4 separate regions of the Homo sapiens genome follow, and regions 1, 3 and 4 are each linked to region 2. The links are contacts of gene promoters, found by promoter capture Hi-C in human tissues and cell types (Jung and others, 2019). All regions are on one chromosome and are shown on one strand. The core of a region is centred on a gene start or on the middle of the fragment in contact, and the rest is flanking DNA. Distances in the headings are between cores, read along the strand shown. Region 1 holds the start of DLEU7-AS1 (DLEU7 antisense RNA 1). Region 2 holds the start of EBPL (EBP like). Region 3 has its middle 47 kb from the start of DLEU7-AS1. Region 4 overlaps RNASEH2B-AS1 (RNASEH2B antisense RNA 1).

Region 1 (4,663 bases), core at 2,036-4,535, 1.1 Mb before region 2:
CAGATCTTGATATATTACATATTTAAGTAAATAATGATAGAAAATGAATATTCTTACATGGATGCCCCAATTTCTTTCAGCTGCCTCAGATACTCACTGGATAGTGATAGCCAATGATATGCCAGACTTGATATTGATTGATAATGTTATGGCCCCACCAGGGAAGGTTAGAAGAATGGAAGCTGCTTATTTCAAATTTGAATGAGCAATCAAACATTCCTGTTCTGATTAATGTTTTTTTGCCTTGATGCACATATAAGAACTGGGACTAGCAGAAAGGGTTTAGCTTAGGACTGTGGAGAAATGCTTTTCTTCATTTCTGATAAAGCTCCATTTGCTGTTTGATCCTGTCTTCTTGATCTCCCAAGTTCCTGATAAGTCTACAAAGCTAAAACACTCACAGTTTGATCATTAGTAGTGTAGATCTTCCTCTCATTCAATGGAAGTCTTCTCTTGGAGGTCAGCAGTAAATGTCTCATTGCCGTGACCCACTGGTCAGTCCTTATGCCTCTTCATCTTTGCACATGCTGATCCCTTTCTCAGAAAGAAAGTCCCTTTAGCCAGGCATCATCTCCTTTGAGAAGCTTTCGCTGACCTCAGACTGGAGAACTCTATTATAGCATTTGACACTCCCCACAAAGGGGAGAACAGTAAGTTGCAGTCTGATGAAGTCATATGATGCCCGGGCTGGCTTATGAGTAAAGAGGTGAGAAGGTCTCCTACTGAAACAGATTTTCCCTCTTTCTTCCCCTTACAATAGCCTTTCAAAGTTCTTGAAATGTCCATTAAGGAATTCCTATACTTTACTTTTGATTTCACAATTTCTCAGTCAAAAGCTCAATATCATTGCATAGGATAATACATTACCTTAAAAAAAAAAACACCAAAAAAACCTCAACACTCAAAGATTAAATTTGTGTTTGGAAAAGGCTTTATAGGCAGTGGTACCTGGAAACTGGTGCTTGAGAGAAGCAGGAGGAGGGAGGGGAGATGTCAAATACCATCTTTTAAAAAATTTGTTTGTTTTTGATGACCATCTTTAAGAGATTTTTAAATGCCATGTATGAATTCAAGAAAGAGAATAAAGCAGGATTCTAAGAAATAATAGAAAGCTTCTTAAGGAAGCCGGTATAGTATCATTTTATATCTCTGATATTTCTGCTCATCTACTAAAGCTCATTAAAACCTATTAATGATTAGGAAATACTTATGTTTTATGAAATGTATAAAAAAATTTAAAGATAACAATCTAAACTCTCTTTAAAAATTAATTTTTATATATATCTTAACACCATTTAACACACTTAATTTTAGTACTTCTTTACTAAAGTTTGCGGAGGCAGACTACTCTTAAAAGTAGGAAAAAAAAAGGCAGAGGAGCAGACCGACTTTTTTTTTTTTTTTTTTTTTTGAGAGGGAGTCTAGCTCTGTCACCCAGGCTAGAGTGCAGTGAGTCTAGCTCTGTCACCCAGGCTGGAGTGCAATGGTGCGATCTCTGCTCATTGCAACCTCCACTTCCCAGGCTCAAGCAATTCTCCTGCCTCAGCCTCCCGAGTAGCTGGGATTACAGACTTCTGAAATTCTGAATAGTATAAATACAACTGGAATTACACTTTATTTTTAAATATACATTTCTAGGTAAAAACATAATTAAAGATCAAATAATTTTGGTTAAATTTTAAAATAAGCCCAATATGTAACTAAATAAGTCTTAGCAGAAAAATGTGAGGATAAAGTTGAGATTGCTCCTATTTTTTAATATTTATAGCATTTATTTATTTGTAATTACTTGTGAAGTTTCAAGTATTAAATATTACTCCGAGCTGTCTAATATGAGTCAGAATTTAGGGCAATAGAAAATATAAAACAAATTTTTCCTTACTAATACATGTTTTTTAAAAAGTTGTGTTTATGTTCTTCATTGAGAACTAAATAATCACTAAAAGAATTGCAGAAGTCATAAAATCATTAAATTAAGGAGAGAAAATCTCTATATATTCAGGATAAAGACATTTAGTATGCTAAGATCTCTATCCAATGGTCAAAAAACAACCAACCAAAGATGAAAATAAAAAATAATTTCTTGGAATATTATCTGAGGACTTCCAATTTTAACATGCAGAGCTAAGTGAGTATTTTCTTATTCATATCTCAGAAAAACCAACCAAAACATCAAGGGAATCAAGAAAAACAGTAATGCAAAGCTTATCCTTTGTAAAACTAGGAAACAACAGAGATTTTTAAATGAGAGAGAGAGAAGACTTAGTGGCATAGGACATAGGAAGTACCAGAGTGAAGATGCCTGTGGATTCTGAGCTTCAAGAAAGTCATAAAAGCACAATTCTAAGTGATACATACTGAAATGTAAATGGAGGTTTTTACAATAGAGGGCAGCAAACCACTTCTTATACAACCAAATAGTAAATATTTTAGAATTTCTGGGCCATATGGTCTCTGCCATAACTATCAAATTCTGCCACTGTAGTGCTGAAGCAACCATGTACAATAAACAAATGGGCATATCTATATTCCAATAAAACTTTACTTCCCAAAAAAGAAAGCTAGCCAATGGGCTATAGTTTGCTGATATTTGTTCTCTAGCAATAAGGGTGTGTCAGCTTGACTGAGTGCTTCCCTGGGCCTCAAAGTGGTGAGGTTTCTAGAAAAAGGAAAGGCGATAAAGCTGAATGAGAAGTGGTAGGAAACTGCACAAAGAAGACAGGGCATTGCTGAAAGCATAGCTAGACATGTGGAAGACGGAATTAGAAAAAAATGAGTAAAAAGAATAAATAAAAAAGATATTTAAAAGGGTTATATGATAGATGCAAAATATATAAAAAAATCAAACATATGCATAATTGGTGTTCTTGAAGAAGAAAATCAAAATAATAAAACAATAACTGTTAGGATTATTACACAAAAATTATGAATATAAAGCATTATTAAACAAAATCCAATTACACATTAAAAAACTAACACACCATGAGCAATTATATTTATTCTAGAATGCAAGGATGGTTCAATATTAGGAAATCTATTAATATATTTCTACCACACTAATAGATTAAAAATCATGTTTCTAGATGCTGAGAGACATTTGATAAACTCCAACATCCATTCTTACTAAACAAGCAAATAAACAACAAAACAAAACTGTCAATAAATGGCAATAGATACTTCCTTAACCTAGTGCAATATACTAATCTCAATCTAAAAGCTAGTGCTATAATCTATAAGGAAACTCAGAAATATTTATATTAATGTCAGGAACAAGACAAGAATGTCTACTACCACAACTATTCATAGACGTTGATCTAGACATCCTAAGCAATGCAGTTTTACAAGAGAGAAAGAAAATGTATACAAATTAGAAAAGAAAAAGACAAATAATAATTGCTTGTAGATTATAAAAGTAAAAATTTTATTATATAAAAAGTGAGCCAACTGAAAAAAAATATTAGAACAATAGTGGAATTCAGTTAGGTCTTTGGTTATAAAGTAAATATATACAATCATCATCCTTCCTATATTAAAATAAAAAAGGCATAATAGAAGAAAATACTTCATTTTTGATAGCAATATCACTAGAAAATATTTAGAATAAATTTGTCAGATGTGAAAACCTATGTAAAATCTTTAACTGGCTGGACGTGGTGGCTCCTACCTGCAATCCCAGCACTTTGAGAGGCCTAGGCTGGCGGATCACCTGAGGTCAGGAGTTCGAGACCAGCCTGACCAACATGGTGAAATCCCATCTCTAATAAAAATTTTTAAAAAATAGCTGGGTGTGGTGGTGCATGCCTGTGGTTGCAGCTACTCAGGAGGCTGAGGCAGGAGAATCACTTGAACCCAGGAGGCAGAGATTGCAGTGAGCTGAGATCATGCCACTGCACTCCACACTCCAGCCTGGGTGACAGAGTGAGACTCTGTCTCAAAAACAAAAACAACAACAACAGAAAAAAAAAAAACCCCATAAAACGAACAACATTACACTGTCTCTTGTGGACACAAAAGAACACTTGAACAGATATAAAAGTATATTATATTCTTGGTGAGGGAAACTCAGTATCAGACAGTTTTCAATTCTCTCTAAAAAAATATAAACATTTAATACAGGTCCTATAAGAATATCAATAAAATTTGGGAGTCTATATATGATTCTAAAGTTCATATAAAGGAAAAAAACAAGCAGGAATAACCAGGAAAATTCAGGGGAAAAAATAGAAAATACATGGTACTAGCCCTACCTGACATTAAAATATTTAGGACGTGATGACATTTCAATTAGTGGGAAAAGGGTGAAATTAATAAATGTTGTTCATTCTAGCCCTCTAAAAAATTAATATTGGATTCTAACCTCAGACCTTACATCAAAATGATTTCCTGATGAATCAAAGATTTCCACGTTAATAAAAATATAAAAATACTAGGACCCACCATGGAAAAGTTTTAAAAGTATTGTAGTAAGGAAGATCTCTTTAAGTCCATTACAAATCTCAGAAGTCATAACAAAAAACTGATGAATCTGACAATATAAAAATAAACTGGGCAAAAAATTTGCAGCTCACATAGTAGACTAGCACTGTCAATGGAAATACAATGTAAGCTACACGTGTAATTCTAAATTTTCTAGTAGTTAGTGTAAAAAGTAAAAAGAAGTCTG
Region 2 (4,414 bases), core at 1,509-4,008:
TCTAGGTTTCCGGGTTGTAGTAACTGATGAGTGGAAGTAACATGAGATAGGAAGGAGAATCAGACATTGGGGTGGAAAGTGATGAGCTCAGTTTGGGTTATATTGAGACATCCAAGTGACTGTCAAGTAGGGCAGTTGGAAATACTGGTCTGGAGTCCAGAGAATAGGACCAGGCTAGAGATTTGAGTTCTCTGCAGGTTTTGCTGGTCATTAAAGCAGAGGGTAAGGATGAGACTGCCTGGATTTGGGGTCTGGAGTGAGAACAGGGCCGAGGACTGGGTTGTGGAGCTGCAGCATTCACTAGGCATTTGTAGTGGAAGATGCACTTGCAAAGGAAACAGAATGGCTAAGGAGGCTGTATTCTCAGAAAACCAAAGGAAAAATATTTCAGTGCTGGGATGCTGCTGAGAAGTAAACTACACTAAGAAAATGAACTGTTCTTGGGGTTCAGTGATGTGGAGGCCAGTAGTCACCTTAGTGAGAGCTATATCAGTGTGATAAGGCAGAAACCAGAGTAGAAAGGACTGAGGAGCAGGGTCAAGACATGAAGACAGGGGATCTGATCAGTTTTTTCATTAAGTTTCTATTTTGCTCTGAAGGGGAGGTGGGCCGAGTGGTCCCTAAAGGATGATAAGTTAGTTACAGGACAGGATCCAGAGCATAGGTGGCTAGATTGACCATACTCAGTCGCCAGTTATTTAACTGAGCAGCTAATATATGCCAAACTCTGTAATAGGTGCCAGGGATACAGCAATAAAAAAGCTAGCCACAACCCCTGGCCTTGAAGACTTACATTATAGTGGCAGGAGATTAGCAATAAGTGTGTAAACAAGGATCATTCTATCTGGTGTTAACTGCTATAAAAAATGGTATAGGAAGTGACTAAGGGAAAAATTTCTTGTGTTCAGTGCCAGCATTTTTTTTAATAACTGTAAAATACACATAAAATTTGCCATCTTAACCATTTTTAAGTGTGCAGCTCAGTAAAGTATGTTCACGTTGTTGTGCAACCAATCTCCAGAACATCATCTTGCAAATCAAACTATCCGAATAAATAACACTCCACTTTTCCCCGCGCCCCCCCCCCACTCCCGCCCCGCCCCACCCCTGGTAACCATCATTCTATTTTGTTTCTGCAAATTGATTATTTTAGATATTTCCTGTAAGTGGAATCATAAGTATGTTTTTGTGACTGGCTTATTTCACCGACCTCATAGGGTTGTTGTGATGTTAAATAATGTAGGTTTGTTCCCGGACCAAACTGGGGGTTGGGCAGCCCAATAATGAGGTGCAGATGAACTGGGGAAGAAGAGTTTTTATTTCTGCAACCGGTTACAGGGAGAAGGTCTGGAAATTATTGCCAGACCAACTCATAATTACAAAGTTTTTCCAGAGCGTATATACCTTCTAAGCTATATGTCTACGTGTAAGAGTGCATTCATCTAAAGACGTAAGTGATTAACAACTTCTAATCCTGAAGACCTTCCTCTGGAGCCTCAGTAAATTTACTTAATCTAAATAGGTCTGGGTGCTGGGATGATTACCCTTATTTTGTCTCTTGCTAAATCATGGAGGCTTGTGGAATTCCTCCAGACTCCCAATAAACTTGTTTTTGGAGGCCTGGGGAGTTTCTTCAGACCCCCAATAAAACTTGTTTAATCCTAAACGGGTCCTGTTAAAAATTCCTTAGTTATCTTGTCATGCTTCAAGGCCCAAGAAAGGCCTAGGCAAAACTCTTGGTGGGCTTTTGTTACATTCCAGACTTTGGTATATGGGCACTGACTCTTTCAGCTTTTAATTTTTTTTTTGTTTTTTGAGACGGAGTCTCGCTCTGTTGCCCAGGCTGGAGTGCAGTGGCGCGATCTCGGCTCACTGCAAGCTCCGCCTCCCGGGTTCACGCCATTCTCCTGCCTCAGCCTCCGGAGTAGCTGGGACTACAGGCGCCCGTCACCACGCCCGGCTAATTTTTTGTATTTTTAGTAGAGACGTGGTTTCGCCGTGTTAGCCAGGATGGTCTCGATTTCCTGACCTCGTGATCCGCCCGCCTTGGCAAAAAGTGCTGGGATTACAGGCGTGAGCCACCGCGCCCGGCCTCAGCTTTTAATATTTAATTTAACCACTCAGTGCTGAAGCAGTTGTGATGGAGGCCTGCGATAGTGAAACCTGGCCTGCCACAGGTTAAACGCATCTATCGCCAAGCCAATAGGACTTACCGCTCCTCTCACCCACCCTTCTACTTTTCTGGATTTTTAAGAAATGGAAAGATTGTCAGAGTAGGCCATAAAGGCTTTAAGCCGGCTGGTGGCTGAAAACTCCCTTGGCCCCCAGCCTCCCTGGTAAGGCTTGCTGCAGCCTAATTAAAACCTTTTGCCCCTAAAATTCTGCCCCGGTCTACTGGCAAAATTTCCACTACCTAGGCTTCACTTTGTGGCTTAAAGTTTGAGCCTTGTTAAAAGCGAAACAACATCAAAAGGTGTGGCCCTATTACCAATCCTTTGGGCTCGGTTTGGGAACAGGTTTGGTCGAGGCGGTTGCGCAAGTTGGTGAGCACGTTCCTTCTACGGAACCTCCATGGGCGGCACCTGGCAAAACCACCGGACTCAGCAGGCTGGCCAGGGTGCGAGGCGGGCACGGAATCCTCGCTCTGGCCCCGACCCGGCCGGGGAGCCCCGTCCCTCCCCGGACCGCCTTGGCCAATCAGCTCCGCTCCTCCTTGGCCATCCGGCTCCGCCCCTTCCCGGCCAGCCCCGCCCCGTCGTTTCTCTCCCTGCTTTCCTCTGCCGCATGGTCCTGGGCCGTTGGCGTCGGAAGCCTGAAGCATGGGCGCTGAGTGGGAGCTGGGGGCCGAGGCTGGCGGTTCGCTGCTGCTGTGCGCCGCGCTGCTGGCGGCGGGCTGCGCCCTGGGCCTGCGCCTGGGCCGCGGGCAGGGGGCGGCGGACCGCGGGGCGCTCATCTGGCTCTGCTACGACGCGCTGGTGCACTTCGCGCTGGTAAGTGCCATCGCCTAGACCCTGCACTCCCCATCCCAGAGAGTGGGAGCGGGGGCGGCAAGGCGGGGTGAGGGGGTCCTGCGGCTTTTTGCAGCGAGCTGGCCGCCCCTCCCCCTGCTGCAGGAAGTCTGTTAGCTGAGAGGCGCCTGGAGGCCGCGGCGGCCGGAGTTCTGATTCCCAGGTCTGTGAACAGAGCGCAGCTTACCTTGTGCTGCCGATTCCTCCACCAAACTTTAAAAAAATTCTGTACGTGCTATGTTAGTTTAGAAGATACCTCAGCTTCCTCGGCTTTGTAACCTGCACGTAACTGTTGAACTGGACATAATTGAGAGTAGAATTGAGGTCATTTTTAAATGCCCCAGAGGGGGCAAGGAGAGATGCTTGCTCCGGAGGCAGCAAGGCTATTGTCGCAAAACCCGAAGCCTTTGCCAAGACAAACGAAACACCCGTGTCTAATGTGTGCCAGGCGCATTACTGAGTTTAAAATTTCAGATCTTTACAGCATCCATAAATTAGTTATTATTGTTCCCCATTTTACAGAGGTGAAGGTAGGCGCTGCAAAATTAGGTGACTTTCCAGTGCCACACAGCTGGCATGATTCTGAGGCAGTCTAGTCTGGCTCCCAAGTTTGCACTCTGTGTATCAGTCGAGGTCTTAGGAAATATGTGTCCTTAGAGATTCAACCCATTTTATAAAATAGCCAGGAAGGTTGTGTTTAAGGCATTTATATTGAAATGCCCCGCCCCCCACCACACACGCGCACGCACACACACACACACACTTTTAAGTTTTTTTTAAACTATGCCCAAGTATCAGTTTGTTTTTTTTTTTTTTTGTAAAGTTGACCTTGTTTAACTCTAGACACACCTGTGGCTAATGTGAAGCCAAAGTCAGTAGTATTGAGAAAGCAAGCCGAGTTTTGGGTAATCATCGAGTTCTGTAAATGTTTACGGGTTGGCTTTGTGCCCATGACTGATGTTGCTGGAATTCTTTTTATTCTGATAATCAACATGTAGAGATAAGGGACAGTGAATGTTTCTCTCAACTCCTTTATTTATAGAATTCTTTTTTTTTTTTTTTGTCTTTTTTTTTGTTGTTGTTCTTGAGACAGAGTCTAACACTGTTGCCCAGGCTGGAGTGTAGTGGCACTATCTCGGCTCACTGCAACCTCCGCCCCTTGGGTTAAAGCTATTCTCCTGCCTCAGCCTCCCGAGTAGCTGGGATTACGGGCGCCCGTCACCACGCCCAGCTAATTTTTGTGTTTTTAGTAGAGATGAGGTTTCACTATGTTGGCCAGACTGGTCTCAAACCCCTAACATCAGATGATCTGCCCACCTTGGCCTCCCAAAGTGCTGGGATGACAGGCGTGAGCCACCGCCACCGCCACCAGCCGAGAATTGATTTTTAAGCTATCACTTGAACAC
Region 3 (4,486 bases), core at 1,232-3,731, 1.1 Mb before region 2:
GTTCTCTGCTTAACATTTGTTAGTGGTTCCCAATCTCTTTTAGGACTAGATCCAGCCTCCTTATTACAATGAATGGGATCCTTCATAACTCGAGCCCTCCCCAGCGTCCCCAGGACATCAGTGCCACAGCAGTACCGAGCTGCTGCTTGATCTCACACCCCTCTGCATCTCACACATCATTGTCCCTCTGCGTGCAGTTGGTGATCTCTCCTGCTCTCCTTTAATTAACTGCCAGGCAGCTGCCTTCCCACCTCTCTGGTGTTGTCTCCTTTCCTAAAGACCCAAGCAGACCTAGGGCTACCATTACATATGCACTTGTGGGTCTGCAGGGCACTTTCTCTCCACCAGTTGGAGGCACACTGGTGGGAAGAACTTTATCTTTTCACCTGTGATTCTTTCTCTCCCTGCAACATCCCTTCCTGGATGCAGATCTTTCCTGGATGCAGGGGGACTTTTTGTAATCTTGGGGAGGCGGCTGTTGCTTTTTTTTTTTTTTTTTCTAGCACAATAAAGGGCAGGAGATTAACCTCTTCAGTGTGAGAGTGTGTTTTTGTTGTTTTTTTGTTTTGTTTTGTGGGGTGGCCTGGGGTAGGAAGAGTTCCATTCTTAAACCACCTTGGTGGCATCTTCTCCTTTAATCCCCGCCTTCAAGATGTATACAGCTTCTTTCTTTCTCCTCCATTTAATGTGTTGACACCCATAAAAGTTGTGAAAAGAATGCAAGCTTCCATCAAGTTCAAAGCTATTGGATTTAGATGAAAAAGACATTTGTAGGCCTTGAGAGGCAAAGAAATGCCACCCATAATAGTGAGGCAGCAGCCAGGATAGGTTCCGACCTGGGCTTTACCCTGTTCCGTGAGCACAGCAGGGATATGAGCTGTCTAGATTCTGAGAATGATAAGTCTGTATTTTAATTATAATGCTCCAGGAGTAGGCATTAATTCATGCAGTCAGCATCCTGGCTAAAATCCCTGCTTGTGATAGTCGTAATCCCCAAACATTGCATAGTCAGAAACCCTGGGAAGACACAGAACTAAACATATAAGTCTTTTAGAGAATCAAAACTGTATCACTGATATTTTCTTTTCTTTTTTTTTTTTTTTTTTTTTTGAGACGAGTCTCGCTCTGTCACCCAGGCTGGAGTGCAGTGGTGCGATCTTGGCTCACTGCAACCTCCGCCTCCCGGGCTCAAGCAATTCTCTGCCTCAGCCTCCCGAGTAGCTGGGATTACAGGTGCCCACCACCACGCCTGGCTAATTTTTTTTGTATTTTTAGTAGAGATGGGGTTTCACCATCTTGGCCAGGCAGGTCTTGAACTCCTGACCCTGTGATCCACCCACCTCGGCCTCCCAAAGTGCTGGGATTACAGGCGTGAGCCACCGTGCCCGGCCCAATATTTTCAAGTTAAGAATCTCTACTTATTTGGTATATTTCATTAATGTTTTAAAGAAATTGCCTATTAGAATAACAGGTCAGCTTTAAAATGCCCATTTAAGAGGCATAATTGAATACTTTTTGATTTAGACTTGTGGTTTTAGATAAAACTTTAATGTGTCAAAGAGAATTCAGCCTCACCAGATGCCTCTGGCAGTCAGATTGGGGCCCATGATTCATTTGGGGCAATGAAAACTTGTGGTACTTCCAAGTAGAAGCATCAAGAGCAGGCATGTCTCCTCCATCTCTCCTTTCCTTGTGAAAGCGACCTGGTTGGTGCAGGCATTGGATGGGAGAGGCCATGTGATCCACACTGTATTTGCCTGAAGGAGAAACACACCTGGATCATGTTGTGAGACAGCATGAAAGACTGAATTGTCCACTAGGGATCCCACATGTCCTTGCCCCAACAGCTGGGTTTCCTCTTCCCTCTTTTTTTTGCACATGACATTAGCCCCTAACTGTTCCACTCCACCCCTTTTGATAAAATTCAGATCACTCAAATCATCACTGCTAATTCACTAAAACAATTCGTCCCCCTTCTCAAACTCTTTTGACAAACCACTGCTGCCGATGGCTGAACTTCAGCTGACACCTTCCTGCTAAAGCTCTATAAAACATTCTGCCCTCCTTCCCCAAGTTACAACGCCCCTTTGGATCCTTCTCATGCCTGGTATTTTTGAATAAAAGCTGATATGAATGGTGCTCTGGTTGATTTTTTCTGAGCAAGGACGGGATCCCCAGTGGACAATTCAGTCTTTCATGGTCTCTCACAACACAATCCAGGTGTGTTTCTCCTTCAGGCAAATACAGTGTGGACCACATGGCCTCCCCCATCCAGTGGCTGCACCATCCAAGTCACTTTCACAAGAAAAGGAGAGATGGAGGAGACATGCTGTTCTTGACTGCTTCTACTTGGAAATACCACAAATTTTCATTGCCCCAAATGAATCATAGGCCCCACTCTGACTGCCAGGGGTATCTGATGAGGCTGAATTCTCTTTGACACATTTAAGCCATCAAGATTTCAGGCTTATTTGCTATCATACCATAGCCTAACCTATACTGGCTAATGTATTTACTAAATTTATAAACAATATATGAACATTTTCTTAAATTTAAGATTCATCACATTTAGAAATTTGCTTGATTAAATTTTCAGTAAATACTTACATGCATGGGAAGTTTTACTATTAGAAAATTGGGCCAGGCACAGTGGCTCACGCCTGTAATCCCAACACTTGGGAAGCCACGGCAGAAGGATCACTTGAGGCCAGGAGTTTGAGACCAGCCTGGTCAACATAGCAAGACCCTCATCTCTACAAAAAATACAAAAGTTAGCCAGACCTGGTGGCACATGCCTGTAATCCTAGCGACTTGTGAGGCTGAGGCAGGAGGATTGCTTGAGCCCACGAGTTTGAGGCTGCTGTGAACTATGATCATGCCAGTGAACTCCAGCCTGGGCAACAGAGTGAGACCCTGTCCCTGCCCTCCCATTGCCCCCAGCTCCCACCAAAAAAAAGAATACTGAAGTGCTTAAAAGTACTTATATTTGTAAGTGTAATTGAAAGTATTCAAAGATGTTTAATTAGCTTGCTTTATAAAATGAGACCAAATATTATTCAAGGGATCCTTAACTGTGATTGCTAAAATTTGGCAGAAGTTTTTATTTTACAAGTAAAATAGGATTTATAAGATGAACACAAAAGCCTAAATATGAATTGCATTTTTAAATATAGAGCTTGAATAAATCTAACATTGCTGTCTAAAAACCAGACCAAACCCCTGAATGATCTTTTGTATGCATAAAGTGTATACTCAAGAATACGTAAAAGACCTCATATTTAGCAATTTGCTATGGAACCAGGTAGAGCTGACACTGACTGATGAGCTACATGGGGGGTCACTATCCAAGGAATAGTAGGATCTCAGAAGGGAGGGTCCAAAGGATGGAAGGTGGCTGGCAGAGGGAAGAGAGAATTTGCAGGACTGGGCTCCAGGAGAGAAGTTCTTGCTGTGGAGGGGTGGCCAAAGAGTGTACGTGGAGATCCAGGGTAACTCAGAGAAGTCACAGAAGCCCCCTGAGTTCTTAGCACACTGAGAATCTAAAATAGGTCCAATATTTCCCTCACGGGTCACTTCTTCCACTGGGTCACTTCCTCTGCTGACTCCCTTCCTGGTGTTTTTCCACTGGGAAAGAATGGATCTAAGAGAGTGACACTGGGGGCCACCTGACTAGCTGAATAAGAAGACTACTATCACTACTGTGCCCTTCTGCCCTGATCTATTCATGATAAGGGCTAAATAAGAATAAGCCCTTACATGTGCATAGGACTTTAGAGTGTACAAAGTGCTTCATAAAACTCCCAAAACTTATTCATTTAACTTTCACTATAGACCTCTGAAGTCTTTATTTCTGCCACACATTTAGTTCCATCCCTAGTTTACACACATGGAATCAAAATCTCATAAACTTCTAAATCTGTGGGAGGCCTAAGAGATCATTGGGATCAAGCCATTCTTCCAGTAGATGAAGGAACCAAGACCCATAATAGTTAAGTGATTTTACTGAAGCCATACAGCTAGTATGTTATGTCAGTCAGATATTTTTGTGTTTGTTTCTTTGTTCCTTCCAGATATCTCTAAATGAAGCTGATAGACTAGGCTTAAAATGGAAAATATGTATATGGGGGGAGTGGAAAAGGAGGTTACAAAGATGAGGAATAAATCAACCCCTGTCTAAGGGAATGTGTTTGCAAATTGGATGAACTAGTTTGAAATGAATTTTCAAAGGAATTCCGATTTTCTTGTGGTAGCTAATGATTGAAGAATCTCAGTGACACTAGTTCAAGACATTCTCCATTGAGGATTACACATTAAAATATTTGGAAATGGGGGCTGTGGTAAGCCTAAGATGGGCTCCAATTATCCTTGCTTCCTTCTGCAATCTTCTCCCCTTGAATGTGGGCTGGACATAGTGACTCACTTCCAGTGAATAGAAAACAATAGCTAAGTAAAGGAGTGCCACTCCTGAGATTTAGTCATAAAAAGA
Region 4 (4,810 bases), core at 1,899-4,398, 1.2 Mb before region 2:
TTAGATATTAGAAATAACTTCATATCTCTGCAAGACACCTAAGATTGCCTGGGGATTTTGAGAACAAGAACTTTGCTGAAACAGCTTATGCTCTACCCTACTTGGAACCAGAAGAGATTATCAACATCCTAGTTGTCCTTTAAAATTTGAGATTCTGTCTGCCATTTCTATAGGCGTGAAGATCTTAACTGATCTACTCAGAATCTACAGCAAGGCAGAAAGAACGCAGTGGAAGAGAACAAAAACAAACAAACAAAACTTGGTCCTCAGCCATCAAGAGCCTGTTCTAACATTGGAAGTTAATGGTACTCTAACAGGACAGTGGCAGTGAAGGCCCTGGAGAGGGGAGGAAGGCAAAGAGGGCACCACTTCACTTGTACTCTAGTTATTTCTATCCATCAATCAGTAAGCTTGTAGAGGAGCTTTCAACTTCCATATGTGCAAGATGCTCTGTAGAATGCATGTAAGAAAGAAAAACATCATTGCTTATTCTTTAACAGCTTACAATCAAATTTGAAAAAATCCACACATGAAATATTAAAAAAAAACCATAACACAACAATCGGTAGCACAGTTGTGAAAGCAAGAAAAGGTAAGGACAATCAGTATGGGCTGGACTCATCATGAATGAGAAGGCATTTATAAAGAGCCCCATAGGATGAATGGAACTTGAACTGTCATGGAAGAGTTGGTTGAGAGGGCATTTCAGGTATAGGGTAAACATAGGCTGAAACCTGAGGGAGGAATACTCCCGAATACCATAGCATGTTGTTAAATGGAAGTTTCTGGCTATAGTGCAGATGTTTCAGAGAATACAGGAGGTGATGAAGTGAAATAGCTGAATAATTGGTGGTCACGGATTGCTTTTTATTTATTTATTTTTAAATTTTTAATTTTCGTGGGTACATAAGTGTATATATTTATGGGGTATTTTGATACAGGCATGCAATGTGTAATAATCACATCAAAGTAAATGGAGTATCTATCACCTCAAGCATTTATCCTTTGTGCTACAAACAATCCAATCATCCTCTTTCAGTTGTTTTTAAATGTACAATAAAATCATTATTGACTATAGTCATGCTGTTGTGCTGTCAAAATACTAGGTTTTATTCATTCTTTCCAACCATTTTTTTTGTACCCATTAACCATCACCACTCCCTGCCACCTCCACCACTACTCTTCACAGCCTCTAGTAGCCATCCTTCTACTCTCTATCTCCATGAGTTCAATGATTTTAATTTTTAGCTCCCACAAATAAGTGAGAACATGCAAAGTTGGTCTTTCTGTGTCTGGCTTATTTCACTTAACATAATGACCTCTGGTTCCATCCATGTTGTTGCAAATGACAGGATCTCATTCTTTTTTATGGTTGAATAATGCTCCATTGTGTGCATGTACCACGTTTTCTTTATCTATTCATCTGTCTATGGACACTTAGGTTGCTTCCAAATCCTGGCTATTGTGAATTGTGTTGCAATAAATATGGGAGTGCAGATATCTCTTTGATATACTGGTTTCCTTTCTTTTGGGTCTATACTCAGCAGTGAGATTGCTGGATCATATGGCAGCTTTATTTACAGCTTTTTTTAGGAACCTCCAAGCTGTTCTCCACAGTGGTTGTACTAATTTACATTCCCACCAACAGTGTGTAAGTGTTCTCTTTTCTGCACATCCTCGCCAGCATTTGTTATTGCCTGTGTTTTGGATAAAAGCCACTTTAACTGGGGTGAAATGATATTTCATTGTAGTTTTGATTTGCATGTCTCTAATGATCATGATGTTGAGCACCTTTTCATACACCTGTTTGCCATTTGCATGTCTTCTTTGGAGAAATGTCTATTCAGATCTTTTGTCTATTTTTAAATTGGGTTATTAGATTTTTTTCCTGTAAAGTTGTTTGAGCGCCTTACATTTCCTGGTTATGAATTCCTTGTCAGTTGGGTAGTTTGCAAATATTTCTGTGGGTTTTCTCTTCATTCTGTTGATTGTTTTCTTTGCTGTGCAGAAGCTTTTTAACTTGATGTGATCTACAAAATGCTTTAAAAATCAGCCAGAGATTTCTAAATTTGAGGATGGAGAAAAGAAACAAGTGTCTGTTCTTAAGTAGGTCAAGGATATATTGAAAATGACATTTCAAAGACTTCTTTAGCAGCAACGTTCATAATTAAGCATTTAATATGGATTCTTTATAAAATAAAAGTTCATCTTGCTATTTGTGCTTTTTTATATTAAAATATAGGGTGTTTTGTTAACTGATTACTTGATTATTTTAGAACATGCTTAAGAAGCCTAAGTATAATCAGATAACCTCAACATCAGTAGGACAACTGATGCTGAACCTTAACTTGGAGCTTTAAACTCTTTTCCAAATGGTTTGTCCTTTAGATTTTCACTGCATCTAAGCACTGTGAGCTAGTTATTTCTCAGAAAACACCAATAACAGTAATAACAGCTAATATGGCAAAAATGAAAAATTCAGACGACTTAACTATACAGTGTTTATATAATGTTCATGTGCCATTGAGAAGGGGTGCTGGAAATGAGTTTTCAGCCTCAGTGTACCAGGACAGCAGGTCGAGCACAGAACTGAAGCCTTGGGCTCTGTCCTATCTCTAGGTCTAGTCTATTGCTTTCTTAGTCAAGTCATTTCCCCATTGTAGGTTTACCTAAAAAGAGGGGATTAAGCTGAATAAACTAAAAGAAAAAAAAAAAAACACAACATTTTTTCAGCTCAAACTTTATAAAACTACATTTGTTCATGTTTTGGGAGTTCCAGCATGAGCCTAGCTTGACATCGTAGGGTATAACAGGGCCTATTTTTCAGGTGGGTAGGAAAAGTCTAGTTGCATAATGATAGAATTATCTTGGGAGAATAACCCACTAAAAGAAGCTCACACCCTTGGGTCAACCACAGTGCTCTAGCACTGGAAAAAGAGGACAACATTGAGTTATATTGTTTACTACTTAGAGCTTCTTCTGGCCCAGTCCCTGGGATTAGTAGTTAAATTCTAGGAAAATTTCAGAGACATTGGAGTACAAATTACTCATAAGACCACTTAAATTAATTAAGTAGTTTCACCTACGAGGAATCAAAATACCTGACTCAAGCTTGTGTATGCAATAAGAACATTTATCTACATAACTGGATTTCAAAGGTAGGGCAGCATTAGTTTCATCCTAAGACTGGTTCTCCTTGTGCTCGCAATATGGCTGCCAGTGGCCATGGGGGATATATACTTCCTGGTATACAATGTAACATGAAATATGAGTCCTTGTTTTTATTCTGCTTATTTCATCTCGGATTATGGTGCCCATCCCTGTACTAATCTCAGGGGATGGAAGACTGCCATTGGCTTCACCTAATTAGGTTCTATCACCAGTGATCCAGATATGGTCAGTTTCCTCTGAGGTATTTGGAAAATAGGTAGTTTTCTGAAAATTACTTTGGTTCTCTAAAGTACTAATGAATATTTTGCAGAAAATGAACACCTTCCATGACTCTCACCCACTGGTGTCTGGGCTGGTGGGACAAGAGAGCATCTGCTGTTTGATGAAATAAATTTATGTTGAGGTTATCAGAGCAGGAGGTTGTTGACAAGCACGGGTGTCTATAATGGTCTTGTAAGAGCTGAAAGTGTTACTGGCGGTGAATCTGTATAGGTCTGCAGCAACAATTCTTACCTTCTCAGAAGAAAGAATTTGGCTCAGGGGCATAAGGCAGAGTGAGAGACTGAGGCAAGTTTTAGAGCAGTGGTGAAAGTGTATTAAAAAGCTTTAGAGCAGGAATGAAAGGGAGTAAAGTACACTTGGAAGAGGGCCAAGCAAGCAACTTGGGAGATCAAGTACACAGTTTGACCTTTTGACTTTGAGTTTTATATGCTGACATACTTACAGGGTCTTGGGTCCCCTCTCCCCTGATTCTTCCCTTGGGGTGGGCTGACCACTTGTGTGCTAGTGCTTGGGAGGGGCCGCATGCGCAGTGTGTTTACTGGAGTTGTACACATGCTTACTTGAAGCACTCTTCTCTTACCAGTTGATTGCTCCTAGAAGGTCATATACCAGTCAAACTCTGCCATTTTGCCTCTTAGTGTGCATGCTTGAACCCACTGGCCCAACTCCTGAGATCTTATCCGGAAGCTGCTGATCACCAGTTTCAGGTGTTTTCTATCTATTGGGAGGCTGCCTTTCCCTGGCATCTGGGTTTCTCATTCACTGCTATTGACTTGGGCCGAAATTACATGTTCCATGCAGCTGGAAGGAAGTTGCCTAAGAAAAGCTATCAAACACTTGTGAGGATTGGAGACTACAGCAAATCCACAAGTGATGAACCTGCTGGCTAGTTCAAGAAAATTCAAGAAATATATTTGGACAGACCTCTAGAGATTTGGCTAAAATAAAGAAGAGCAGACACTTAAAAAAGTATTTTTTCTTTGATTTGTGGTATAATTTTAAATCATGAATCTAACCCATTTCTTGATAGGTGGGTTTGAACTACAGAAATTCTAGTTCAACTTTTACCTCTTCTGAAGGCATCATTTTAATGTTAATGCATGTTGATATATGTCTCCTTTCTTTAGCAATAGGACTTCCTTGAGCTGATTAGAGTAGCTGTGCCATCTGCAAAAACTCTACCTTAATGCATCTACTTTAAAACCTTGAAAACCTTAATGCATCTACTTTGCATGTAAACAGGGAGCATGGCTGTGGCCTAACTGAATTTCAATGCCTGTAAGTGTGGTTTCCTGAAAAAGAAAATGAAACCCTGTCTCCATGTCTTCACAGCATGCATACTTTTTTTTTTTTTAAA

Evidence for each region. The method cuts DNA at HindIII sites, captures the fragments that hold promoters and counts their contacts. A contact is called where the count stands out against the background at its distance.
Region 1: a fragment that was not itself captured here is called in contact with the fragment with the promoter of EBPL in region 2 in 1 of the 25 tissues and cell types used here (mesenchymal stem cells).
Region 3: a contact is called between a fragment that was not itself captured here and the fragment with the promoter of EBPL in region 2, in 1 of the 25 tissues and cell types used here (hippocampus).
Region 4: a fragment that was not itself captured here is called in contact with the fragment with the promoter of EBPL in region 2 in 2 of the 25 tissues and cell types used here (dorsolateral prefrontal cortex and mesenchymal stem cells).

The regions. Positions count from the first base shown.
Region 1 is chr13:50,803,725-50,808,387 of GRCh38, reverse strand. It overlaps DLEU7-AS1 (DLEU7 antisense RNA 1), which reads right to left and starts at 533. Exons shown (of 5, transcript NR_046551.1): 1 at 402-533. It also overlaps a transcript of DLEU7 not described here. The HindIII fragment of the contact is 3,253 bases long and covers 1,659-4,663 here.
Region 2 is chr13:49,689,830-49,694,243 of GRCh38, reverse strand. EBPL (EBP like) reads left to right here and starts at 2,758. Exons shown (of 4, transcript NM_032565.5): 1 at 2,758-2,990. The coding sequence starts at 2,820. RefSeq lists silencers at 2,633-2,832, 2,863-3,002 and an enhancer at 2,466-3,463. The HindIII fragment of the contact is 15,697 bases long and covers 1-4,414 here.
Region 3 is chr13:50,758,814-50,763,299 of GRCh38, reverse strand. It overlaps a transcript of DLEU7 not described here. Among named protein-coding and RNA genes, the nearest start is that of DLEU7-AS1, 47 kb to the left of the region's middle. The HindIII fragment of the contact is 6,650 bases long and covers 1-4,486 here.
Region 4 is chr13:50,893,667-50,898,476 of GRCh38, reverse strand. The region is part of intron 1 of RNASEH2B-AS1 (RNASEH2B antisense RNA 1); the gene reads left to right. Among named protein-coding and RNA genes, the nearest start is that of RNASEH2B, 14 kb to the left of the region's middle. RefSeq lists enhancers at 4,742-4,810, 4,362-4,810. The HindIII fragment of the contact is 3,873 bases long and covers 1,212-4,810 here.